5 separate regions of the Homo sapiens genome follow, and all the other regions are linked to region 3. Evidence: promoter capture Hi-C in 16 types of primary human blood cells and fetal thymus (Javierre and others, 2016). All regions are on one chromosome and are shown on one strand. The core of a region is centred on a gene start or on the middle of the fragment in contact, and the rest is flanking DNA. Distances in the headings are between cores, read along the strand shown.

Region 1 (4,852 bases), core at 886-3,385, 700 kb after region 3:
TGTCAGCAACTAAATTGCTCAGAGTATTGGTAAATTGTGGTGAATCTTTACCTTGTATATGGTGGTAAGCAATACTGGATACTACACTCTGTCTATTTGTTTCTAGATGAGAACAAAAAGGTATACCGTTTGATAAAAGTATACTGATTTAAAACTCAAGCTATATAGATCACTGCAAATAATGGCATTCCATATATAACAAATGGACATACTGTCATAGAAAGAAGAGTAACGTGAGAACAGATCCACTTTGTAGATATTATTACTCTTATGGTCTTTCTATGAGAGGCTACACTCTATGAGATAATAGTTGATGCATTTTGAAGTAATTTTTCTGTAGTTGTGATGAAAAAAGAGGACTTGTACTGTGACCCAATATTCCCAGTAGTGCCTGAGCTGCAACACACATTACAGAAAATTACAGTCATGTACCTCATAATGACATTTTGGTCACTGACAGACCATATATATAAGAGTGGTCCCATAAGATTATAACACCATCTTTTTACTTTATCTTTTTATGTTTAAATATGTTTACATACATAAATACTTACCATTGTGCTACTATTACCCACAGTCTTCAGTGCAGGTTTGTAGACTAGAAGAAATACACCTATACCATATAACCTGGGTTTCATAGGCTATACCGTCTAGATTTGTGTAAGTACACTCTGCGATGTTCATAAAACAATGAAATCACCTAACAATGCATTTCTCAGAATGTATCCCCATCACTAAGTGATCCATGACTGTATAAAAATTGATTCCAAATTCCTTATGGCATTAAGCACTAAATTACAGCTCAGTGAGTCTTGATGCTGGCCCAAAGGGCTCTCAAGATTCCCCAGGGACTTTCATATATTGGCACTATTCACGATAGCAAAGACTTGGAACCAACCCAAATGTCCATCAATGATAGACTGGATTAAGAAAATGTGGCACATGTACACCATGGAATACTATGCAGCCATAAAAAGGATAAGTTCATGTCCTTTGTAGGGACATGGATGAAGCTGGAAACCGTCATTCTGAGCAAACTATCGCAAGGACAGAAAACCAAACACCGCATGTTCTCACTCATAGGTGGGAACTGAACAATGAAAACACTTGGACACAGGGTGGGGAACATCACACACTGGGGCCTGTCATGGGGTAGGGGGAGGAGGGAGGGATAGCACTAGAAGATATACCTAATACAAATGACGAGTTAATGGGTGCAGCACACCAACATGGCACATGTATAAATAAGTAACAAACCTGCACGTTGGGCACATGTGCCCTAGAACTTAAAGTATAATAATAATAATAAAAAGAATTTTTCTAAGATGCATAACAAGATAAGCTGGTACTGGGGAGAACATCTCAGAGTATGGAAGAAAGAGAAGAGTGGACATTACAACCTAATGTTACTAATCCTAGCCTGAGAACTTTGGGTAGAGTTCTTAAGCTTCTAAATAAATATTTTTTAAACATTTGGATTCCACTTTCTTTTAGCTCTGGGTGAAGGCTGCCTGTAGGCATGTAGATAGGAGGTGTAGCAAACAGCATTCAAGAAGATCATATCTAACAATCTGATGGTAGGGTCAGTTTAGTCTCGGCATCCCTCTGAGAATCAGTGATAACTATTTATTTTCTCTCCCTTCTTGTCCTACCCCCAGGCCATTCTTATCACTTCCACTTATGATAAGTCAGGGTATGATCCATATAGAAAACTAACGGTTCCAAAGACTCCAAAAGCATAACACTGATATACCAGGTGTTGAGTGAGCACAAAATAAATGGACAATATGGATTTTACCTGCAAAACAATGTGCAAGTACACAGATAGATGGAAGGATACACATAATAAATAATTTATGACCAAAGAGAAGTCAAAGAATGATAATGAGGTGTGGATAAGGTTTAGGAAATTTTAAGCAGGGAAAATAATTAAAGGACTGAGATTTTTGGAAAAGGAGAATGTAATAGTTAAGAGTATGAGTATTGGCCAGGCGCGGTGGCTCATGCCTGTAATCCCAGCACTTTGGGAGGCCGAGGTGGGCAGATGATGAGGTCAGGAGATCGCGACCATCCTGGCTAACACAGTGAAACCCTGTCTCTACTAAACGTACAAAATATTAGCCGGGCGTGGTGGCAGGTGCCTGTAGTCCCAGCTACTCAGGAGGCTGAGGCAGGAGAAGGGTGTGAACCCGGGAGGCGGAGCTTGCAGTGAGCCAAGATTGCACCAGGGCACTCCAGCCTGGATGACAGAGCAAGACTGTGTCTCAAAATAAATAAATAAATAAATAAATAAAAGAACAGTATGAGTATTAGTTAGGAAAACGTGGGTGAAATTCTGTTATCATTACTTCCTGACTATGTACTGGCAAGATAACATGATCCCTCTGAGCTTCAGTTTTCCTAATCCCTGGAATGGAATATTTATCTTAAATTGTATTGTATATGCAAAGTGTTCACCACATTATGTGGTATATATTAAGTTCTCCATACCAGGCAGCTATTGTTATAATCATTATAAAGACTAATGTGGTACAGCCACAGTAATACAGTGGAGTCCATTTGCAATAGGTTTTCAGTTTTTCCTTTTAGAACCAAACATTGACATGAACAATGTATAAGTCCAAACACAGTGCTGCCTAAGGTCAAGTGCCCATTCTGATACTCTAGCCAAAAAAAAAAAAAGAATGTTCAGGTGTGCAATGGCCTGAATGTGTCCTCCCCAAAATCATAGCATGCAGTATTGGGAGTATGGGTAAGAAAGCAGGCAGTTGTGGAAAGCCTAGGAAAATAAGGAGGCGGCAAGGAATGACAGCATGAAGCTTTTAGGAGGGCAAGCCGGGTTACAGGCCTTGAGAAGACAGTGGGGACAGCCTCAATTTCAGTATCACCCTTTAGCACATTCTTAACCGTGTTTTCGCTAACCTCTCACTGACCTGGGTTTAGTTTGAGGGACAGAATGTGATTTGGGGTGAGGACACTTTCATTTCAATACAGCTAGCTCACTCTCCAGATCTCCTGTCAAGTTGAGACAGAGGATGCCACGGAAGGCCCTGTCACTGTACAGCAAATTCACAGCTGCACAGGAAGCAACACAGTAAATCATTGTCCTTCTCATGAAGGCTGCAATCAATAATGCCACAGGAGCATTTCCCCCCAAGAACCAGAAACTGCCTGGAACTGTGGGAGACCCATTGCAATACTGAGAATTTGATGTGGAAAAATGAGAGGAATAAAAGAGTTCACTCACCAAGAAGAAAAACAGGTGAAAAGCAACACCAATTAACTTTAATTATAGAGTCTCATTCTCACCCTAGGGGAATTCATATATTCAGATGCCAGCTACAGATCAACAAAGAGCAAATGGATAGATCTGTTGTTATTTATGAGAATCTGACTCCTAGACTTTTCATGAGATCAAATTTGAAATTTTATACTTGGCAAAAGAAACAAGGTTGTTAACAGACATGAAGAATTCACAATAGTTAATGATCCTATTGTCAGTGATATTAAAAATTCACTTTTATTGATAATGTCAGTGCATTTTCATTTATATAAGCTTCTGGGAATTTAAGAAGAATGACCCTAGCCTAGGTATAAACTGGCCTTGGAAATTGCAGTGAGAGATATTGTAGCATAATGGACCCTCAGTTTAATTCACCTCTAGTTATCCCTGTAAAACATGTTACAACTCTTCCAACTTTCTCCACATTTCCCAAACCTTGAACTGTATTTTCACCTGTTTGATTCTTAGCAGAAGATAATATTTCATCCTTATTGAGAAGATCACTGGCTAGGAACTAACTCATCTCTTTTAAGTGACACCACTCTTTCTTCCTTCTATCCTAACTCTTATAAAATGTGTCTCGATGCCTGGTCAAGACCACCTTTTTGTTTTTTTTGAGACGGAGTCTTGTGCTGTCACCCAGTCTGGAGTGTAGTGGCGCGATCCCAGCTCACTGCAAGCTCTGCCTCCCGGGTTCACGCCATTCTCCTGCCTCAGCCTCCCGAGTAGCTGAGACTACAGGGGCCTGCCACCATGCCCTGCTAATTTTTTGTATTTTTAGTAGAGACCGGGTTTCACATGGTCTTGATCTCCTGACCTTGTGATCCACTCACCTTGGCCTCCCAAAGTGCTGGGATTACAGACGTGAGCCACCGCGCCTGGCCAAGACCACCTTTTAACAGAAAGCCTTTTATTTCCAATTGTACGTGACTATTCTAGGGATTTCCTACTGGGTGATCATTGGAATCACTTGAATTTCCTTGGCTACAAGTCAGAGATTCTTATTTACTATTTTTGGGTTGGTGTCTGGGAATCTATATTTTTAAACAGCACTTTCCCAAGGGGATTCTGATACTAAAGCAGGTTTGGAGAAACCACTAATTGATCCATCTTTTGAACTTTCCTTGGAAGTTTTCTTATAATTTTGTGCTTTGTTCCAACACTAAAGTAATGTGTTTTATCTCTTTGAAAGGATTACAAGCTCCTTAGGCCAGGTAATGGTGTCTTATAGATTTTGTGTGTTCTGTAGCACCAACTACAGTTGTTTGCACAGAGGATGCGTTCGATCAATTTGCTGAATAAAAAGCAAAGCTCAAGAAAGGGAACTATATAATGTGTGCTCACCAATGGCAGTAGTAGTCATGATAGTTAACATGTCTCACATTTATTGAGCACCTATCTCTTCACCTGCATTGTTCACTCTGTAGCAATTCAGTTATATAATTCTCGAAATCACCCTGTGAGGTAGTTACTGACTTTATCTCCATTTTTCTATATTTAGAAACTCAGGCATAAGGGAGTGAAGTAATTTGTGTTAGCTTAAACAACCAAAGACTTTTTTGTTTTGTT
Region 2 (4,970 bases), core at 121-2,620, 640 kb before region 3:
CCAAATTAAGTCCTAGACAGGAGTGCATAAGAGGGAAGATTACTTTGTGTGTGGCAGTAATCAACCAGTATCTTTTATGGAAACCATAACCACCAAAACCAGGGATATTGCCAGTTTTTAATTTCAGCCACTCATGGTCAACACTAATGAGTAGGTTAAGAGACACACTAATTTTAAATATAACTGCTGGCTCTTTCTAGAAACCAGGGCTTCATAAAATATTTGTGAGTGTTTCTATTCACTGACATTGTTTCTCTTTTCACCATACTCACACATCGACATTACACATCACCCGGGTTATGATGGATAATCATGTTTTCAACATTTTCACATCAGAAAAACCCTGCCAAGAGACCTATAAAAGCTTCAATCACTCAAACATTTTATGTGATACCAGACTATGACATAAAAAAACATAAGAAGAGTAAATATGACATACAAGTCAACAGACAACACCAGACTATGACATAAAAAAATCATAAGAAGAGTAAATATGACATACAAGTCAACAGACAACACAAACATTTATATTCATTTGTTTTCCAGGTAATTGACATAGAATTATAAACCTCAGCAGACATAGAATTATAAACCTCAGCAGGAATAGTAATTATGATAGTAATAAAAATTCTTTGGACATCATAATTACACTCTTTAAATTTAAAACAATAGCTAGCCTTTCCCTTAGGTTTTACTCTGCTTTTGAATTTAGAGAAACTCAATCAAAATGTTTATATAAATTAAAAACCTTTGAAAAATCTCTAAAACACAACTTGTTTATAAGTATTTTTAATAAAAGCAACAATATAAGAACAAAATTAACTTGACAAGCAAGTAACCATGATTTAAAAATATGCAACATCAAACTGAAGCCACTGTCACAAAATAGCATAATCTCAGCCGATAGAATGATTAAAAATTAAAAATGACTTTGTATTTTAAAATATTTAATGTGTCAATTCAGCTCCACATTGTTAGAAAAGAAACTGAACCGTGGTCTCTTTGACAATAATGTCAGAGTCAACTAGAACTTGGCAGATTTCCAAGCCAGGAGCTATGGTTTTATTCAGCAGTTTCTATGAATGCTCTGCTTCACAGAGTTCCGAAGCTAATCAAAGTAGATGTTCAACTTGCCTCCACACCAAAAATTACTCTGCAGCTTTGCAAAGCACTCCCAAGACAGCCTAGTGTATAAAACTATTTTATAGATGCATATATGTAAAGGGAAGTGACAATGAAGTCAGACAAACCAGAAACCAAATCACCGTGTTTGTGCTATTCTTTTTCCCCAAAGAAAAAACCTGGAAAACATTTAGAACCTCTCTGCTCCTAATCCTTACCATACCCTCTAATAGGAAAACTGTTAAAGGTAACCTTAGCTATTACTGACTTTAAAATATTCAAATATATTGCTAGTTCAAATATTTAAATATTTGAGGTATAAAATATAGTATATATATTTCAAGCTAAACACTATTATCAACTATTATCATCACCAATGAGTTTAAAGGTCTATCTCTGGTGAAACAATATGGAATAATGATCACCAGGAATAAAATGAATAAGAATGCAATGTAAACATTAGAAAGCCATCATAGTTTTAAGAGAACAAACTGTAAACCAAAGAAAACTGTTTAAAATCTGCAGTGCCACCCATGTGCTTTTACACTTATCTGTTGTGCGTCACAGAAAAATTTTCTAAGATAGCTACCAAAAATGATATGAATTACTAAAATATACTTGCCCTCACTTCTCCAAATGTACACTTTATCATGCCAAAACAATTTATATCCTTCCTGGTAAAAAATAAATATCTTAGCAACTATATTTTTGAAACATTCATTTGATCTAACATCTAAATCATTACATTTATACTTTAAAGAATCATTTTGCATTTTTTAAAACTCATACTTGCAAGAAAGAAACCTAGACCTTTATAACCTATGAATTTAGAAGTGTATAGTTGATACATTAATAGTAAAAGAATTCACAACATCAAAAACTATAAAAAATTTAACCACAAGACCTTTATACAACCACAACACTTGATTTTAACCTTGACAGTGTTGAAAATGTGTAGGGGCAAACACGCACTCACACATAACACAAAAGTTAAAATAATACATATAAGAACATCATTAATTTAAAAGTAAGCTAAATTATACACTACCAGAAGAGTTCGGCTACATGGTATTTTCTTGCCATGTAATTTTTTTAGACAAAATTTTTGATCCCCTTGAATTAGTCTATTTCACCATCTATGCCAAAAAAGGCTAAGTTCTAACAGCTTTTATTGTGCCAGAATTGGCTTTACTCATCTTGCTTACATTTTTTGGAGGGAAAAAAAAAACAGTCTCTGTGAGATATAAAGCTTCTCCCACTACTCACTTTTGATTTCTGTACGCTTGATATATGGTTGCCAGGCTCCCTAGGATGAGAGACATGAGGAGGAGGCACAGAATTGCTAGGGGTTTCCACTAAAAAGCCCAGCACCGTAGGCAGCACTAATCCTGCACCTGTGATATGTTATTCAGCAGTTAAGAAATGCAGCCCAGACTGTGGTTGCCTAATACAGCTCAGCTGTTTTTCTCAGTAGTCCCTTTGATTATAAGCTGGCAAGAGACATTATTCCGGTCAAGCAATGAGCTATGTTCAGGACCCATGGCATATGACAGTGGAAAGGTAAAAAAGAAAAGAAACCTAGGAGTCAAAAACAAAACAAAACAAAACAAAACAAAAAAAAAAGAAAAGAAAAAAAGAAAGAAAAGAAAAAGGAAAAAGAATGAAAAAAATGTCACTGACCACAGTGTGTTATGTAACATTTCCAGATGGTTAAAAGCTACCTCTGCGTCTATGCAAGGCAGAAAAATATCTAGAATTCATCATTTAAATATCTAGAAATCTATCTTTATAATATCCTTTGACATTCAGAATGCTATTTCAATATGCAATGTCTTAAGTTTATCTTAAGAGAATCTCAATTTCACAAACCAATCAACTACACAAACATTTAGAAATCTTTCATTAAAGAGGTTTACCTTTACTAAATGTCAAATTCCTTTTAAAATTTGGAAAATTTCAAAATGTTTGGAAAACTGAAGACCAAATGAATACCATTATTTCTATCTTTTTATTAAATCTACCATATCATTTGACTTGATTCATTAAAAATTTGATATAAAATTTATATTTGAGACACAGCTATCCTATTCATCATATATGGTTAAAACAGAATGAAATATTTATTAGAGTCAAGTTAAAGCCTCTAACTAGTCCATATTGATTTAAGAGATATTTGTCATACACAAATATTAAGAAATATTTACCATACACAAATATTTCAAAGTGCTGTAAGCACTTTGGGCTCAAAGAGTTGAAGAAGAAATGGCCACTATGTTCATGAACCTTAAAATCTATTTGGAGAGTGTGGCATAAAAGTTGTCAATTTTGTTGTTGTTCTTTTGTCATAAAAGGTCTGCTGATTGTTCACTCACACCAAAGGTTCACTCTATTTCCTTTTATACTATAGATAAACATAAAATCATGTTCCTCCAAGCTAGTATCTGTGCCACTTTAAACAAATGACCTGAAATCTTATCCAAAAAACAGATACCTTTGCCTAACAGCAGATGGTTAAAAACAAACCAAAAAATTCCTTTACAAAAAGAGCTGAAATGAAGAAAATATATCAATTCAAAATGTAAATATAATTTTTATAAAATGTAACTATAATTTAAATATATATATTAAAGAACATGTTAAACATTTTAAGTTATTTTTTATTGCTGTTTATATACTAATTCCCTACTAGCCAAAAAGTATATTAAAAATTTTGTTAGAAAAAAATATGCATAGGATATGTATTAAAATCAATAGGGTCAACAAAAATTCCTGTGTACATGAGAACATTCTCTCTCAACAGAATTTGACAAACCTTATAGTTTTCCCTTGTATTCAAACACCTGGGTTAGAATACTGCATTTCAATTTCCGAGTAACACCCTGAGGCCGAATGAAAGAAGAATGGTATTCAAGAAGTGTGCTGTAAGATGTTTTACTAGTATTCCCCTAATTCTACCATTAGTCTATATCCAAAGTAAAATAAGACAGTTGAATTGGAACCTGGATATATGTAAGTCTAGAGTTCATAGAGTTTTGATAATTTATGATAAATCTTTTTTCTTGAAATTATACTTAATAGGCTGAAATACTGAACCACCATCTACTTTGCTTTGATTTGTAGGAAGAAGACTGCCAAAGGACAATCTTGTTGAATTCTGGGCAGAAACACTAAGGAGAGATCTGAATTGAAACTATGTTATTATAATAATTGTGTTATCTTCAATCTGGGCATGGCACACACAGGAACATTCTGGCCTGATGCTGCTCAAGCTCTCCCTCTTTGGATAAATAAATGGCTTCAGTTTTCAAAACATTCTCCTAAAGCACTTTTATATTCTTATTTTTTAAATTGTATAACACCCAGTATACCTCAGTGGTCCCAGTCTTTAAAAGCCTTGTTAATTTTACCTGTAAATTTTCTTTCTTTATATTCTTTTATCGAATTCATATCTTCTCATTTATGCCAGTAATGTTCTCACCCATAAACTCTACCCTAAGGTCAAAATGTTTCCTTCCTCCTCTTTTAAATAACTGTCAATATGGGCTCTCCCAATAAACAAACCACCGCCAAAAAAAGAACAACAAAAAGCCTGTATCTGGGATGCTATGTGAGAAATAATTACCCTTCACAAACCCTATCTTCAGATATTTCTGTATTTTAAGCCACACCAACATAAGGTAGATGTATTTGTGTGTGTTATGTTTTTCCACCTTGAAATATTTTTAAGAAGTTGGATATATTATCTTAAATTTCATTATCAGAGTGAGTTAAGAAATAAATACATTGTATTTAAATGACCAAAGTGATCCCAAACAATCATAATACTAATATGGGGGCAAAGGACCATG
Region 3 (5,520 bases), core at 1,845-4,344:
CAGAATACATTTCTAGACACTTAGTATGTTTCACAACTTGCTTCAATCCAATTTTGTGGCTTCTTGCATGCAAAGTTTAACTCAAAGTACTTTACAATACTTCACTAATGTAGCAAGATTTTATTTCAGGTTGAATTCAGAATAATTTTCTCCTTCCCTCCACTTCATGTATTCTTTTGTCTGCAATTGACAAGAGTCTTTCAACTGCACTTACTTAAATTCTAAGTTACTCTAACATGTGAAAGAGACTGCAAATCAGTAGGCTCCCATTCATGCTTTCCAAATACTAAATTCTTTACAATGAGAAGCTGTTTTTCAATGCACAAAACTATTCTCTCCAATCATGAACTACAACTTGTATTTCCTCCTATGGGGACATGGTATTTTCCACACTTAAAGTGATATCTACTTTTCCTTCAGATAGTCAACGATAGGCAATACTCTAGTACAGTGATGTTAGTCACAACCTGCTTTTTGTTTTATACACACACCTCACCAGGCAGAGAGTAAGCATTTGCCACTCAGTGAATAAGATTATGACTAAATACAGCAAAAGTGCTGGGTTAATGCATTCAAATGGAATTGGCAGTTTAGAAAAGAACCAGTGCTTCGGTGCTTTCTTTTGTCTGTTCTGCTGTTAAGTGTGCGTGTGATGACTCTCCTAGTAGTACTTTCATATAATTTTTAAAAAGCAAAAAAAAAAAAAAAAACTTCGAGTTTCCTATTGGTTGTTATAACGGCAGGAGACAGAGGAATGAAGTTTTCTTTTGTTTTAATGGAATACTAAGAAACAATAATTCTCTCTCTTTAAAAAATATTAAAAACATAACAGATATGTAATTTTATATTAAAAACATACTTCCTTGGAAAATGTAAGCTATTCAACCAAATCACCACCTAATATTACCTGTCTTAAAATATGTTTTAACCCATTCAAAATTTCTAGCCCATCACCCCAAATTCATAGTTGCAGATATAGATATTTGAGCCATAGGTATATTTAAAGCAAACATTCCTTCTTCTCATAAAGGGAAAATGGGGCAAAACATTCAAATAAGCCTGGTTTTTAAAGAAAAATTATATCAGGGAAAATAAAAATTACAGAAAATTGTATCAGAAACCGAAACAGCTTTTCTACTGGCGTGGTAGTATACTGAACTACAAGGCAATAACACATTACTTCAGTAATGAAGTAATAGGCACAGAGCACTAAAAAAGATCCAAAGGCCAAGCCGGAAGTCAAACTGTATATATAGGTGAAAAACTACTAGTGGGAAGCTAATAACGAGCCACACATAATTCAATTGCTTTCCCGCTATAAAAGGAGGAGATTTTCAGAAAACTAATAGAAGGACTGTCCTGATATTGACACGATACAAATCAGAATCGTGTAAAGCCAACTGATATTTCACAGGCAGCCTGCCCTCCTTTATTAATCTTTAACTTGTGTCTGGGGAATAATATGAAAGTTGGGCTCAACTTCCTCTGGCCCCATTCTTCCCTACAAGAAAATGTATTTCATTTAGATTATCAACCCATGTACTTGCAACTTCCCTTTACTTGGGGATTCCCTTCCTAACTTCTCTCATTTGTTATTAAAATTCCTAGCACTGGCAAGGTCACAGCCACACTACAAAACCAGTGTCATTTCATTTCTAGTCACTGTCCGTTCATTTCTAGATGCTTCTTCTGCTAGCTTCATTTGGAATTCATCTGCCTTAAAACAGTCTCTGCCCCAAGCAATGGCAATATTTTTATTGGCCTTTCCAAGACTCCTCCATCTGGTTATTAGTGCCCAAGCCCTTCCTCAAATACCAAGCAGGCAGGAAATAGCAGCATACTCTTTCAAACACGTCGAAAAGGTTGGAATTTCTGTAGAGTTATGGATTTTCTTTTAGGGAAAGTCTAAACAATGTCTTTGCTCTAGTACTAGGGAAGGAAGCTTGGTATTTCCCACACTTGTATCTCAGCTTCATTAGTGGGTGAGAGGGGAGAAAGGAGAACTCAAGATGAACTACACAGAGTGACAAAAAAAAAGGCCTGAAATTAAAGAGAAATATCTTGAGATTCTCTTTCCCCGCAATGGAGAGAGAATGTAGGTAGAGCTGAAGAACTAAAGCCACAGGCACAGGATGAAAGCAGCCGACAGGACAGTTTTCCAGGAGGGATTCGCGCCTAGCCTTGTTGGCCAAATAAGGCTACCGAACGGGCCGTTTCCGTGGCAGGCGGGTTCAGACGTCCTCCCCGTCAGGAAGGCGGACTTGGGATAGGATCTGGCGATCACACCCTAAATCTGCCCTGCCCAGCGCCGCCACGAATTTTCCTTCCAAGCTCTGCCCTGTCCACACGCCCTTCCTTTTTCCACTTATTGTAAAACGCACCGAAGGCACAGTCTTACAAAAGCCCCAACAAGTACTCAAGTGTTAACAAATCTCGTGTTCATGACAAATGTGTTTCTTAAACGAGCTTTATTTCTGGACGCGCAGAAGTTTTCCCCAAACAGGTTACACAAAACTGTAAATATCTGGGGGAGAAATAAATGCTTCTCAGTAGCCTGGGAGCAAAGAAAAACTAACGCGCCTTTTCCTTTGAGTCCCGCTTCCTACCCTCCAAGAGACTGGCGCAGGACTGGGCACTCAGACACCACACCACGGTGGTGCCGGGCGACGCCGGCAGCCGGGTGGGTGGGAGCGGCAGTGCCCGTCCCTGCCGGCCCTCGCCACCTCCGGGCGCCCTCCCGCGTCCCCGTCTCCGCTACGCTGGTCCCGGTCGGCCCGGGCTGCGGGGACCCCAGGGCTCGCCCTCTGGCCTCATGCGGACTCCAGCGCTGCCCTTTTCCGGGCGCTCCTTTTCCCAAGCTGCTCTCCCACCTCCGCCGCTCCGCGCCCAGAAAGCACCTGAGGAGCCATCCCTGCCCGAGGAGCGCCCCCTCCTCGTCCCCAACCGGGCTTCCCTTCTCGCGTTCGGCGCACAGCGGCCGGTTCTTTCCCTTCTCCCACCGGAGATCCGAGAGGCGCATCGCCGGCCGGCCGCCACTCACCTCGGGTCCGGCGCGGCGCGGGGCTGCCTCCGCCTCAGACAAGGGCTGACAAGTGACTCGCGGTGAGGGCGCCGTCCCCACCGCCCGCGGGAACTTCCGCCTCCTGGCTCTCCCTCGCCCCACCCCCGACCCAGGACACGCCCCTCCGCTCCCGGCCACGCCTCTGGGCCAGTCCCAGCCGCGCCGCGCAGGGGCGGGGAAGGTGGCGGCGGCGCCGGGCGCTCGGGCTTGCTGGGGCTGGCTGAAGCAGCTGCGGAAAGACAACTGCGCTACCGAGTTTCGGTGGGAGTAGTCTTAGCGGATTTTGAGCGCTACCTGGCAAAGGTCTAACCCTCCGCTCGTCCGTTTTGTAGTGGGTGCATTTTTCTCTCCAGAAATTTAAATTGGCAAGCAGTTGCTCTGCCTAAAAATAGAAGGGTACTTTGGATAAATCTCTATCTATGCAAGTTCAGCGGTTACTGCCTGCGTTTTTTTTTTTGAAAGAGCTTTACATGCTCTGAAAAGTGCAGACCCAGAAGTTTACCTGTCAGGAAGGTGAAAACCAGTAACCCTAACAGAAGTTAACCCTGTCCATCACACCAGAAGACAGTGATACATAAAAGCGGCCAAAAGTGATTCAACCACTGTATCTTCAGTTTATTTTTCTAAATCCAAATCAATAGTCCACTTTCCAGCCTTCTATAGGGTTGCTTGATACGCCCGAGGAATTTATTCATAAGAAAACGTGAATAATGTTCACTGAACATACGGAAAGTAACTAGACTGTTACACTGTGAATTGGCTTATAAAACGTGAAAAGGACAATTCTTAACCAAGGAGCATATAAAGCAAGGATGAACTTCATGAGGTCCGTGAGCTCCCCGGCCCCCAGAAGTGCAAGCAAAATTCCAAAGGCGAAGATCCAAAGCTGCTCTTTCCCTAACGGTAGCCACTGGCCACATGTGGCTATCGAACAGTTGAAATGTGGCTACTGTAACTGAGACCATGAATTTTTTGTTTTACGTAATTTTAAATAATTTAACATTTAAAACTGAAGCAGGATAACATTTCTTTACTTTTTTTTTCTTTGAGACGGATTCTTGCTCTGTCTCCCAGGCTGGGATCAGTGGTGCAATCTCGGCTCACTGCAACCTCCACCTCCCGGGTTCAAGCGATTCCCCTGCCTCAGCCTCCTGAGTAGCTGGGATTACAGGCGTGCGCCACCACGCCCGGCTAATTTTTTGTATTTTTAGTAGAGATGGGGTTTCACCATGTTGGCCAGCCTGATCTCGAACTCCTGACCTCAGGTGACCAACCCGCCTCGGCCCCGCAAAGTGCTGGGATTACGGGCATGAGCCACCGCGCCAGGTCGTTAACATTTCTTTTAAGCACTACATTTAAGGACTAAAGTTGAAAATATAATGCCCAAATTGAAATGCGTTGGAAGTGTAAAATGCACACTGGATTTCGACGACTTGGTATGAAAAAATAATGTAAAATGCCTCAATAATTTTTATATTGATTATATGCTGAAATCATCATATTTTATGTTTTGTTAAATGATACATGATTATGGCCGGGCGCGACGGCTCACGCCTATAATCCCAGCACTTTGGGAGGCTGAAGCGGGTGGGTCACCTGAGGTCAGTAGTTCAAGATCAGCCTGGCCAACATGGCGAAACCCCGTCTCTACTAAAAATACAAAAATTAGCCGGGTGTGGTGGCGCATGCCTGTTATCCCAGCTACTTGGGAGGCTGAGGCAGGAGAATCACTTGAACCCGGGAGGTAGAGGTTGCAGTGAGCCGAGACCATGCCACTGCCCTCCAGCCTGGGCGACAGAGCAAGACTCCGCACCAAAAAAAAAAGAGTAATAATAATAATATTTGATTAAAATTAATTTCACTTTTTAAAAAAAATGTGGCCACTAGATAATTTAAAATTACTTACGTGAGCAGGGTGCAGTGGCTGACACCTATAATCCTAGCACTTGGGAGGCTGAGGTGAGAAGATGGCTTGAGGGCAGGAGTTTGAGGTTAACCTAGGCAACATAGCAAGACCCATCTCTAAAAAAATCCAAAAAATTAGCTGGGCGTCGTGTAGTGTGCCTGTAGTCCCAGGTCCCAGCTATTTGTATTGCTGAGCCCAGAAGTTCGAGGCTGCAGTGAACTATGATCTTGTCTTTGCACTCCAGCCTGGGTGACAAAGGAAGACCCTGTTTCTAAAAAAATAAATAAATAAAATTACATATGTGCTTCACATTATATTTTCATTGGACAGCACCAGTCCATAGCTTTCACCACATTTTTCAAAAGATGGCTTTGGGGGAAAGTGTTTCCTAGTGTGAAAGCTGGTTTAGAGAGTCTAATATATGTTATCATGTTTGACATCTCACCCAAAAATAAAAAAAAAATAACAATAGCTACCATTAGCAAATACCTACCATGTGCTATGCAGTGTGGTAGTCCTTACAAGAACTTTATAAAATGAATGTCATCCTCAT
Region 4 (5,421 bases), core at 632-3,131, 700 kb before region 3:
ATATTCCTTCTAGGCTATCCCTAAGAATATAACTGACACAAGAGAAAGGAACCTTTACATTATTATTGAGGTTATTTTTAATATCAATTGAAGCAGCGTTCTGATTACAGTTCTACTTGTTTTCTAACTGTTTTCACTCTTTAAAAACACAATTTTTTTTTTTTCAATTTCAAGGATTACGAAATTCTTCTGTCTTAGTTACAAACAAAATGCAGCTATGAAGCACTGGGAAGTAAATGCAAAATATAGAAAGAATCTTCATGATTCTCCCAAACTGTAAGCACAGCTCACAAAGTCTCATTGCTTTAGAATGTTTTCTGGATGAACAAGTTACCAGCTGCAAACCGACTTCAGAAGTGAGGAAAATGTTTTCTCATGTTTCATGTAGCTGTCAAATTTTCAAAAATCCTCCATCCTTCAATCACCCAGTGGGGAAAATGTGTTATAAAACACTGCCCCCTGGAGTATTCTGGGAGGAATGTCTTAAAAAAAAAAAAAAACAGCAAGGAGAAAGTACTTTCAAATTCTTTACTAACCACTAACAGAATTTCTAAGAAGCAAAAGAAAACCACAGAAAGGAAATGTATATGAATAAAGTTGAGCAGGATGTGTACAACTTTAAACTGTATTGTATTCATGTTGCTAAACAATATTGGCCTTCTCGATGATTTTATTCATGTTGCTCCAAAGTTAAAACCCTGTAGAACTAAGTAGGTGAAGAGATATTTTGTATAAGTGCCACAGAAGAGAAAATATAATAAATTAAATAGTGAATTGAGCATCACTAGAATAAAATAAAATGAGTAGGCATTCCTAAGATGTGAAATGATCACCTAAGATATACATGCTCCAACCATATTGATTTTAGAACAAAACACAGCAGCCCATAACAGTTTGTGGCCTCTACTAACTGTCCTCTGCTGTCCCATCTAGAGGTTATGTTTCTCTATTTTTAAAATAAAATGTAGTTAAATTAGCCTGACGGATGTTTCCTCTCTATCCCTTATCTCAGACACATACAAAACAGACAGACAATAACAAAAAGACATCATCTTTATCTGTACAAAATAAGGTATGCACACTTTTTTCTTTGTGCTTCTGAGATTGGCTCCTTTGCATATATAAGATACAAGCCATCTGCACGATCACCCTCATTTCCTATCTTTGTTGACATGTTCCTCTTACAACACAAGAGCAAATTACCTCTATTTGAAAGCACCCTGTCTTCAACACAGCTCATGACAATTTTATTTAATATTGATCCTTTGAATGAGAGATCAAAAGCATGCACAGGTCAATCCTCTGCACATTAAAAAAAAAAAAAAAAAAAAAAAAAAAAAAAAGCTTTCTTTGTGTTTAATGAAAAGGGTTTTACCATGAAAGAGATGCCTAACTCAATCAGAAACAGAAGTGGATCTGAAGAACACCTATCAACAATTACTTCTATTAGAGTCACATAAACCTTCATTTGTTCCATATTGCCTGAAGCTGCAAAAGGCCACCTGCAGGAATTCCAAATGTGGTCCTAGACAGGCGGTGTTTGTACCCAGTGCATTCACATTACCATAGCGGCCCCAAATGCAGGGATGGCCAAAGTGGTCTGAGGAGGCCAAGACGGGGTGGGGAGTATGTTTAAGATGAGTTCCGTTCTATGTCCTCCAACTTAGACTGTCTTTTGGTTCACAGAGTGCAACAATATTTTACCAATGGAAAAACAAGTATTTTAATTTACCTTCCAGCAGAGTTCCTGGGAAGAATTTTGTTGTTATTATTTAAACTATAATACTATAACCCTTAAACCATCCACATTATCTGTTTTATTTTGGCAAAATGAAAGCATCTTAAAAAAAAAAAAAGGCAATCACAAAATACAGGGCTTTCTTAGAAAGCAACATGCATCATATCTTGAACAAGTTACCCAAGCGGTTTCTCCGTCCTACAAACAGACATGGATCAATCTCTCCTTCTGGGAGCTTCTCTGTCTTTGCCCAGGTCGCTCCCTGAGAGGTGAGGTCTGAACCCACTGGGAAGCAGGACGATGTTCAAGGCTTGTACTGTGGATGCTTATTTGATGTCTTTTGCTCTGCCCACAAACAGAAGAGTACCTGTTGGCTTTCTGCAGAGATGCTTACTTTTCCTCTCCTATCAGAGTTTAATGTCCTGGGACTCTGACATTTTGGCAAGTGTTTTCTTAACCCGCAGGGCTGTCAGCCTTGATGCAGGATTGTGAGCCCAGCATTCTGTCATGAGTTTTCCCATCTGCCTTAGACACTGAGGAAGAGAAATGTTAGAAAAATGTATCATCTGCAAGGCTGGCACCTGTTACAATGTAGCTTTTTAGTTTTAGGTTCATTAAGTTTGAATATATTTTTAAAAGGTACCCTTAAAACCATGTAGAAGTAAAATTCTGTAAGCTTTTTTCATGCAAAATTATATATGACTAAAACAGATGTTCATGTCTTCTTTGTGATAGAAACAAGCAGGTGGTTCTGCTGATTGTAGAAAGGTGTCTTTGAAATTAGTGTTAAGCAAACATAAAAATACCCAGGGAGTCTGTATTCCACTCAATACTCCCAGATTGTTTATAACACTTGATAAGTTTTAATCTTTTATCTAATTCCATACTATGCAAACAAACACAGTTATTCCTAAATCATAGCTGTCTGCTGCAGTAATAGCATCACACTGCACCATTTAACAAGATTAATGACCTGTGCACAGCATCACTAAAACTTTCTCCTGTGGTACATCAATTATTGGTCTTCCTATTGAAAAGTACAATTTCACTTCATAAGAAATCCTCAGTGAAGAGATATCAAGTAACACCAAAAGCCCACAATAACAGAGCTCCAGCATCTCATAAAGCTTTCTGCACAGCTTGCTGGAAAACGTATATATTATTTAGCATTTTAGTAACCAGACACAAAACCAATGAGCCAAAGGTGTTTTTGTTTTTGTTGTTGTTTGTTTATTTGTTTTAAGACAGGGTCTCGGTCTGTCGAGTGCAGTGTCATGATCCTGGCTCATTGCAACCTCCGCCTTCCGGGTTCAAGCAATTCTCGTGCATCAATCTCCCGAGTAGGTGGGAATACAGGTGTGCACCAACACACTAGGCTATTGTTTGTATTTTTTAATAGAGATGGGTTTTCACTATATTGGCCAGGCTGGTCTCGAACTTCTGGACTCAAGTGATCCACCCGCCTCGGCCTGCCAAAGTGCCGGGATTACAGATGTGAGCCACAGTGCCCGGCCCAGAGATTATATTTAAATGGCTTTTACACTTCAGAAATAGTGCTCTGTCCCCCCTTTGCAGTGCTTTGGTACGTTTGATAAGAGCCTGTTTTTTTTTCCAGTGGTGCTTCAAACTCATCTTGAACATTCCAGTCTGCCAGAGAACTCTAGAACATGGTGAGTTTGAAGGCTGCGAGGGTGGAAGGAGAGGAATGTGGAACAGGAGGAGGAGTCAGGAAAGGCAAGACTCATTTCTTCCTTACTAGCCGCTGCTTTCCAGACCTATGTAGGTTTCACCACTACAGCCTTAGAGCCAAGCTGAAGGTGGATTTGTTCAAATCACATCTCGTCATCCTTATTAACAAAGACACCCAGCACAGTCAGGCATCTTAACTAGGTCAACCTGTATCACTTTAACATGCCTACTTTTTTTCTCTAATCAAAATGGGAGAATGCTGTACATGGGTTTGTCACAGAGAAAAATTATGATGCTTTAAAAACACACACAGAGAAATAATAGGTTTTATGCAAATGTCAAGACATTATAAATAAAGAAAATAATGTTATTTGTTATGCAGGCTAAACACTGACCAACTCACTCAATATATTCTGGAAGTGGCAAAATAAAATTGGAAAAGTAGAACAAGTAATTTAACATACTACACTTATCTTCATATAAATTACTGCAATGAGGCGCCATCACCATCACCATCAAAAAAAGAAGAATTCCTACAATCAATATGTGGAATTTTAGCTAAAAAAGAAAAGTCTATTTAGAAGTCTGTCACAGCCACATGGTTACCTCAAGCCTTACCTCATCACTGCTCCACCGGTTTGGGAATGAGGGGCGTAACTTCTTGATGCACACAATCTCCCTCATGTCCTCATAAGAGGGGTCACTGGGCACTAGGTCATGATAAGGAAGCTGGTATTCTTCCACTATACCTAAAAATATGTTGTTACTATTATTATTATTATTATTATTTTCTGTGAAGTAGAAATAAAAGTCTAACACAGTTCTCAAAGGAAAAGTGCTATCAGTATTACAGACAAGTTCAGGCAGAAAAATAGCAAAATAAATCTTGAAAAATATTTACCCAAATGGTACTTAATCTAATTTAGAAAAAATGAATACAAAGCCCAATGAAAAATATTGTCATAGGTCTTCAAGCCTTTCTTTCCTAATTTCCAAAAGCTAAGTAAAACAAGCATCTTAAATTTATTTCCATTTTTATGAAGAACAAATTAAAAGACAAATCTATATTAAATCTCAATGCAAATCTGCAAGACATATCCTGAACTCATACTACATGTGACTGTTTCTATTACTATAGTATGAAACTATGAATATCATAATAAATTCAGAAGTGTATCCTACTTGAACAAAATGTCAGATTTACATTTTTTCTGCTTAATTGTAGGAATGTGGTTTTGCACATTAAAAATTTAGAAAATTACAGACACCCAAAAATATTAACCATGAATTTTTTAGGTTCAAGGATTATCTGATTTTTTTCCTATATTTATCCAAATTTTCAGTAAGGAATACATTACTATTAGAAAAAATATGTATTGTTAAAAGAAAAGAAATATAAATCTATAGCATCTTCATAAAAATGCACACTAAACTTTCATTTTATTGTTCCTAGTATTTAATTTCTACCTTCTTCCTCTTCTCCTTTAAAAATGCAGGCTTCTAGTATCTTCTTTTTCACCTTCTTAAGATTAACTCCTTATAATAATTACATTAGAGGCTGCTGCTCTGAACAATCTTTTGGGAGCACCCCTCCTCCCTATCCTAAATCATCTTTTATAGAAATATCATTGCTTTTCATCTGAAAAAGATGATGCCGTCAAGTTGGCAGATTATATATCACATCGTTAAATTCACTGGGGGCTTACTCTGCCAAAATCTGGGGTCTGTGTTATGTTCTTTCTTGTAAACTCAAATCTGTTATAAAATCATCAAGGACCAGAAGGTTCAGAAGTTTTTTCAGACCATTCCAACTCACCATTTGTCCTGTGCCCTGCTGTGACCACAGAGCTAATTATATGTATTATCTATGTTAATATTTCCTTTCACTGTGTTTTACCTCCATATGAGATAAGAAAAGCACAGGGCCTAACACGCAGGATGTGCTCTGCTTCATTTCAGTTCTTTCTCCCTTTCTCATTCTCAGGACCATGGCC
Region 5 (5,512 bases), core at 549-3,048, 660 kb before region 3:
ATTTCAATAAAAACTGTACATGTGTATATGGTAGAGTCAAAAAAAAAAAGCAGCAGCTCTGTGGTATAGCTATGTAAAAACATCAGTGCTCTCAGACTACAATCTGCAGTGACATTTACTTGACCCCAAAACAGCTGGCCCAAAAAGGTAAGAATCTGCAGAGACTTTGGAACTAGACACTACCTGAGTAGACTCTGCAGAGACCTTGCCTAGGCACTGGCAAAGCAGTGGAATCTGGAAAGACCTTGCCTAAGTACCACCTGAGATCCTCAGAGCTCAAAGCAGTGCATTCTAATGCTACTAAACCCCACCAAAGCCAGCCACCTTACGCAATGCTCAGTAGAGTCCACCAGCCACTCCTGCATCCTCATCTCCACACTGCCCTGGACCAAGAACTTGTCTTCTCATTGTTCCTACCCTCCTTTTCTAAGCCTTTTTACTCTGTCCTTTGGAGTTTTATTCTACTATTTTTCTAAATTCCTACATCCTCCTCAGATAATGCTCTCTCACCTTCACACTCCTAACTGGACTGAAATCTGGCCCCATCTCTCTTTTCTTATTTATTTAAAAAGATTTTTTTAGAAAGAGTGTCTCATTCTGCCACCCAGGCTGCAGTGCAGTGGCAGGACTGTAGCGCAATGTAATGTCGAACTTCCGGGCTCAAGTGATCCTCCCACCTTAGCCTCCCTAGTAGCTGCAACTACAGATGTATACCACCATGCCCAGATCATTAAAATTTTTTTTTTTTTAGAGATGGAGCCTTGCTATGTTGCCCAGGCTGGTCTTGAACTTCTGGGCCCAGGCGATCTTCCCACTTTGGTCTTCCAAACTGCTGAGATTACAGGTGTGAGCCACTGTGCCCAGCCCTCATCTCTCTTAATTATGGGATTTTTCTCCAACCAGTCATGCTGTTTCATACTCCTGTAGTTAGCAAATGGCTCTCCAATATTACAAACCAGACCTCTGCACTTAACTACTGCATCTGTTTAGAGTCACTGCTACTCATAGGCTATGCAAACTCAAAGTTAATAAACTTTCCGGTGCTGTGTTTTCCTTATCTTTAAAGTTGGAAGAACAATTCTATGTACTTCACAGGGCTGCTGTGAGGCTAAAATGGATTAATTAATGTACTTTTTAGCAGATTATGTGGCTAAAGTTAGCCATTTAAATTTTAAACTTTCTATATACTTAGCCTATCCTGCCTTATCCACTTAGCACACTCCTCTTCATCCTTAAAGTCTTGTTCAAGTATCACTTCTAGGAAGCTATTCTGACAACCTCCTCCCCCAGGTAGAGCCAGCCACTCACTCTATTATGTCCTTAATACACTTTATAATCTAACTCTACTAATGAGATATTTCTGAACAAATATAGTTATTGACACGGTGCTCTCTTACATTCTAATGTATACTTCTTGGGAGGAATAATTTTCTTCATTAATTTCTGTATTCCTAATACCTAGCATGTTGCCTGCCACAATTAAAAAAAAATGCTGGTGAGGCTTTGATGTGAATCATTATTAATCAATCTTGTATAGCTTTCTAGGCTAGAACAGGAACAAATGTTAAAACATTTGTCACAAAATTCTAGCTGGGTGTGGTGGTGTGCACCTGTTTCCCAGCTACTGGGGAGGCTGAGGTGGGAGGACTGCCTGAGCCCAGGAGGTGGAGGTTGCAATGAACTATGATGACACCATGCACTCCAGCCTGGGCAACAGAGCAAGACCCTGTCTCAAAAAAAAAAAAGAGAGAGAGAGAGAGAAAGCAAAACAAAGTCATGAAATTCCATTATGTTTTGTTGGAAAGATTTTTCTCTTCTCAAGAAATAAAATCAATCATGAAAAATCACTTTAAATCACTTAGATAAGATTTAGGACTTAAAACTCTGCAACAACAAAAAACCGTGTGTGTGTGTGTGTGTGTGTGTGTGTGTGTGTGTGTGTGTGCGCGCGCTGAAAGCATGGAGGAGGAGAAAGGGAACATGAGACCTGTTGCAAACAAAAGGTCTCTTGGGAGGCAATATCTTGGGAGGCAATATTTGTCATTTTAAAGGAACAACACTTAAATGGGTAAGTTTTGAAATTAAAACTTTTAGATACCTTCCCCATTTTATCAATATATTGATACGATTTGACTAAAAGGTGTTACTCTAGCATAAAAAAAGGAAATGCCATATAGCAAATAATGTTTAATTTAGCCCTTTATATGGTCTTTACTTTTAAAATAAATATAGACAAATGGTAGTTTTTGGGTGAACTACAACTTCTGAATAACTTTCAGGGAGAAGCAGAGTGCTAGCTCCTGCCTCCACCCTGAAATACACTACAAACTCTAGGAATAGCAATTTTCTGAACAGAAGTGGGAAAAAATAAAAATCATAAAAGTGAAGTCACATATGACTGTTTTCCCACAAACTACTTGCACATGTCTTCGAATGATGGTTCCATGTCATCTGGCCTCAGTGCTCTGCTCCAGCAGTGGAAAGTGGTACAGGTAGATTGAGAGAGAACGATTCTAGTTTTTAGTTTTTATTTTCATGATACCTAGTGATTTTCCAGGCTGGAAGCCTTCCTCACTTACCTCTGTTTTTCAATGGAGGCAGTGTAGGGTGTAGGTCTTTATTACATTCGTTCCTTTCTGTGCAGCATTCAATTGATCTTCTTTGATGAGGAATGGGAGTGTCCTATAATCGAACCCAAACAGCTATTAGTGAGTTTCTTCCAAATTTCAAAGTCAAATCATCTAAAACTTTAAAAATAGTCACTATTTAGAGAACTAATTTAAAATTCTAACAATTTCACTCAAACACCTTAAATATGTTCTCCTCTATAAGGTAATTTATTTCAAGCTACCATGTATTATCTTATTGCAACTTTTGCATTTCAACAAAATTACTACTACATTTCTAATAACTAGTGTGCATTGTATAAACTGAGGAAGAAGGCTTGGATTAATGCAACAAGCTAAATTGGATTTTGAGGAAGATGCTCTAATGCGACACTAAACAAGACGTTAACAGCAAAAATAAAAATAATATTTGATTTCAAAATGAAGGAAGAATTGGTCCAATGGAAAATTTCAGTTTTCTAAATTACAATCATGTGTCACTTAAAGACAGGGATATGTTGTGAGAAATGTGTTATGAGGTGATTCTGTCATTGTGAGAAGATCACAGAGTACACTTGCACAAACCTAGATGGTATAGCCTACTACACACATAGGCCAAAAGATAAAGCCTATTGTTCCTAGGGTAAAAATCCATACAGCATGTCACTGAACTTAATACTGTAGGCAATTAAGGCACAATAGTATCCATTTGTGTATCTAACCATAGAAAAGGTACAGTCAAAATATGGTGCTATAATATTATGGGACCACCATCCACTGTCATCATACATACCATCTGTTGCTGACCTAAATGTTTTTGTGCAGCTCATGACTATACTAAAAATGGGCTGGCCAAGAAAAAGAATGGTTTTATCTTGCTTGAAACTTGTTGGAAATCTAGCCAATGAAAGGTTACAGAATCAAGTTATCTACCTTACCCGACACTGAAAATCTGAGCCTTCTAGTCCTAGGCAACCAGAAGTGACCACAGGCAACCCAGAGTCATCCTCTTCTATCATCGTGAAACAATATCCGTCTGTGCTGAAGATCAAACAAGCAAAGTGAGAAACAGAATGTGTGTGTGTGAGTCAGTGTGTGTGTGTGTGTGTGTGTGTCTAGGGGAAAAGGAAATAAGTGATGTGTATCATTTGTTTTATTGCAACAAGGAGAATGTCAATGATCTGTTAAGAGAATCCAAAAACTTCCTTTTATGAAAATGGATTTAATAAACATAAAAACATTTTGTAATATCTCCTTTGTCCAGAAACTTGTGAAAAAGAAGGATCTAACATTTCCATATAATATACATCATTAATTACCATGAAAAACCATAGATACCAATTACTGAACACTTATTTTGGCCCTTCACAGATACTACTTTTCCAGACAAATCCAGACAAACTCTGTGAGGAAGGTAGCACTACTGTTGCTTTCTATATGAGGAAACTGAGGCTCAGGGGGCTTGAGTAACTTTCAAAAGTCTTACAGTTAGTGAGAAGGAGTGCAAGGGTGTGAATCCAGGCAGGTGACTGTTTATACTGTTCTTGCTCTGAGATAGTGAAATACACTTATTTCTTATTAAAGCACAAAAACTAAAGACAGGTAGGATTTGGGATCAGCATGGCATAACTGAGATTCTGACATTTAGTACCTCTGCTTCTGGGCTGTCCTGTCATATAAAGAAATTAAGCTTTGTTGTAAGAAGTATAGGCTTCATTTGGGGGTGGGGTAAAGATGGGCAACAGAAAGAAGGGTTCTTGATAAGACAGTGGAGAGGAAATAAAATTTTAAATTCTGTATGGTTTTCCAGATTAAAAATAACTTTCACTTATTCTACATCATTTAATCCTCTCAACAATAAGAAAAAGAAAGTATTATTATTCCTATCTTACAGATGAGGAAATTAAAATTATAAAAGTGTAGCAAACTTGTACAAGATCAAAGAACAAACAGTTATGGAACTGGGCCTTGAATCAAGGGCCTCTCACTTCACCATGTGTTTTCTGCTATGCCCTTTGGGACTAAAATAAAAAACACATCTGTTATATACAGAACTGTTTGTAAACAGACATTGATATCTTCACAACTTTGGGTGATGAATGCCAGCAGACTCTCAATATAAGTCATAAACCAGCACTGAATGTCTTAAGAAATAAAGTACTAAACTATATCTCTATCCTTTTCTCATATATATGCATGCTCAGCGTCCAAGACAGATATGGCAATGTAATCTTGAAAGGTCATGGGAATAAAGCTCTGAGAACGATACTAGCCATGATTTGTGGGTTTGTCTATTCTGTCTTAGTGGTAGCAGCATGCTGCTATATGTTAGCCCTTCAGTTATTATCAACACCCTCAGAATTGTTTACTTGGTTTATAAGCCTCAAGTGGTCCAAAATACTTCACTTTATAAGAGCCAGCACAACAAAATTCAAACATACTAATGAATGGCTAAAAAGGGCCAATGATAAATCCCTCTCTTACACCAAGGTCAAAAAGCATGAATATTGTTGTGGAAGAAAGACTGTCTCTGAACAGCCCATGCCTTGAACTCTTCAGGCCTTTTTAACCAATTTACTGAAATTGCTATAAAAATGTAAAACATGTAAACACCGAAGGGAATAATTAAAATATCTGTTCCTTAGAAATTTACTTTAAACAATATGAACAAGTAACACCTGTGACTTTTTTATTCTTTTCCTTCATATTTAGACTACATGTATAACTTACATTTCTCATCTAAATCAAAATTCAAAAATTACCGGAAAATATGGTCATCCTAATTTTATGATATCAGGAAGGTATAGGGGCTAGAGAAGTACCCTAAATTAAATCTAAAGACTAATTTCTCCTTATCATGGGTTCTTCTTACTCAAAATAGGAGTAAATAGAAATGCACTTCTAGG

The links. The method cuts DNA at HindIII sites, captures the fragments that hold promoters and counts their contacts. A CHiCAGO score of 5 or more calls a contact.
Region 1: a fragment that was not itself captured here is called in contact with the fragment with the promoter of PDLIM5 in region 3 in 2 of 17 cell types (M2 macrophages and M1 macrophages); the score reaches 5.9 in M2 macrophages.
Region 2: a contact is called between a fragment that was not itself captured here and the fragment with the promoter of PDLIM5 in region 3, in 1 of 17 cell types (fetal thymus). The highest score is 11.7, in fetal thymus.
Region 4: a contact is called between a fragment that was not itself captured here and the fragment with the promoter of PDLIM5 in region 3, in 1 of 17 cell types (fetal thymus). The highest score is 6.6, in fetal thymus.
Region 5: a fragment that was not itself captured here is called in contact with the fragment with the promoter of PDLIM5 in region 3 in 1 of 17 cell types (fetal thymus); the score reaches 6.1 in fetal thymus.

Annotation. Positions count from the first base shown.
Region 1 is chr4:93,749,803-93,754,654 of GRCh38, reverse strand. All of the region lies in intron 14 of GRID2 (glutamate ionotropic receptor delta type subunit 2), which reads right to left. Among named protein-coding and RNA genes, the nearest start is that of ATOH1, 77 kb to the left of the region's middle. The HindIII fragment of the contact is 1,372 bases long and covers 1,450-2,821 here.
Region 2 is chr4:95,089,046-95,094,015 of GRCh38, reverse strand. All of the region lies in intron 3 of BMPR1B (bone morphogenetic protein receptor type 1B), which reads right to left. Among named protein-coding and RNA genes, the nearest start is that of BMPR1B, 330 kb to the right of the region's middle. The HindIII fragment of the contact is 2,007 bases long and covers 367-2,373 here.
Region 3 is chr4:94,449,516-94,455,035 of GRCh38, reverse strand. PDLIM5 (PDZ and LIM domain 5) reads right to left here and starts at 3,094. Exons shown (of 13, transcript NM_006457.5): 1 at 3,041-3,094. RefSeq lists silencers at 2,595-2,854, 3,025-3,444. The HindIII fragment of the contact is 3,776 bases long and covers 1,945-5,520 here.
Region 4 is chr4:95,151,398-95,156,818 of GRCh38, reverse strand. BMPR1B (bone morphogenetic protein receptor type 1B) reads right to left here. Exons shown (of 13, transcript NM_001203.3): 12 at 4,046-4,176; 13 at 1-2,271. The coding sequence ends at 2,146. Among named protein-coding and RNA genes, the nearest start is that of UNC5C, 390 kb to the left of the region's middle. The HindIII fragment of the contact is 1,070 bases long and covers 1,347-2,416 here.
Region 5 is chr4:95,112,855-95,118,366 of GRCh38, reverse strand. BMPR1B (bone morphogenetic protein receptor type 1B) reads right to left here. Exons shown (of 13, transcript NM_001203.3): 5 at 3,545-3,647; 6 at 2,580-2,682. Among named protein-coding and RNA genes, the nearest start is that of BMPR1B, 360 kb to the right of the region's middle. The HindIII fragment of the contact is 5,000 bases long and covers 1-4,298 here.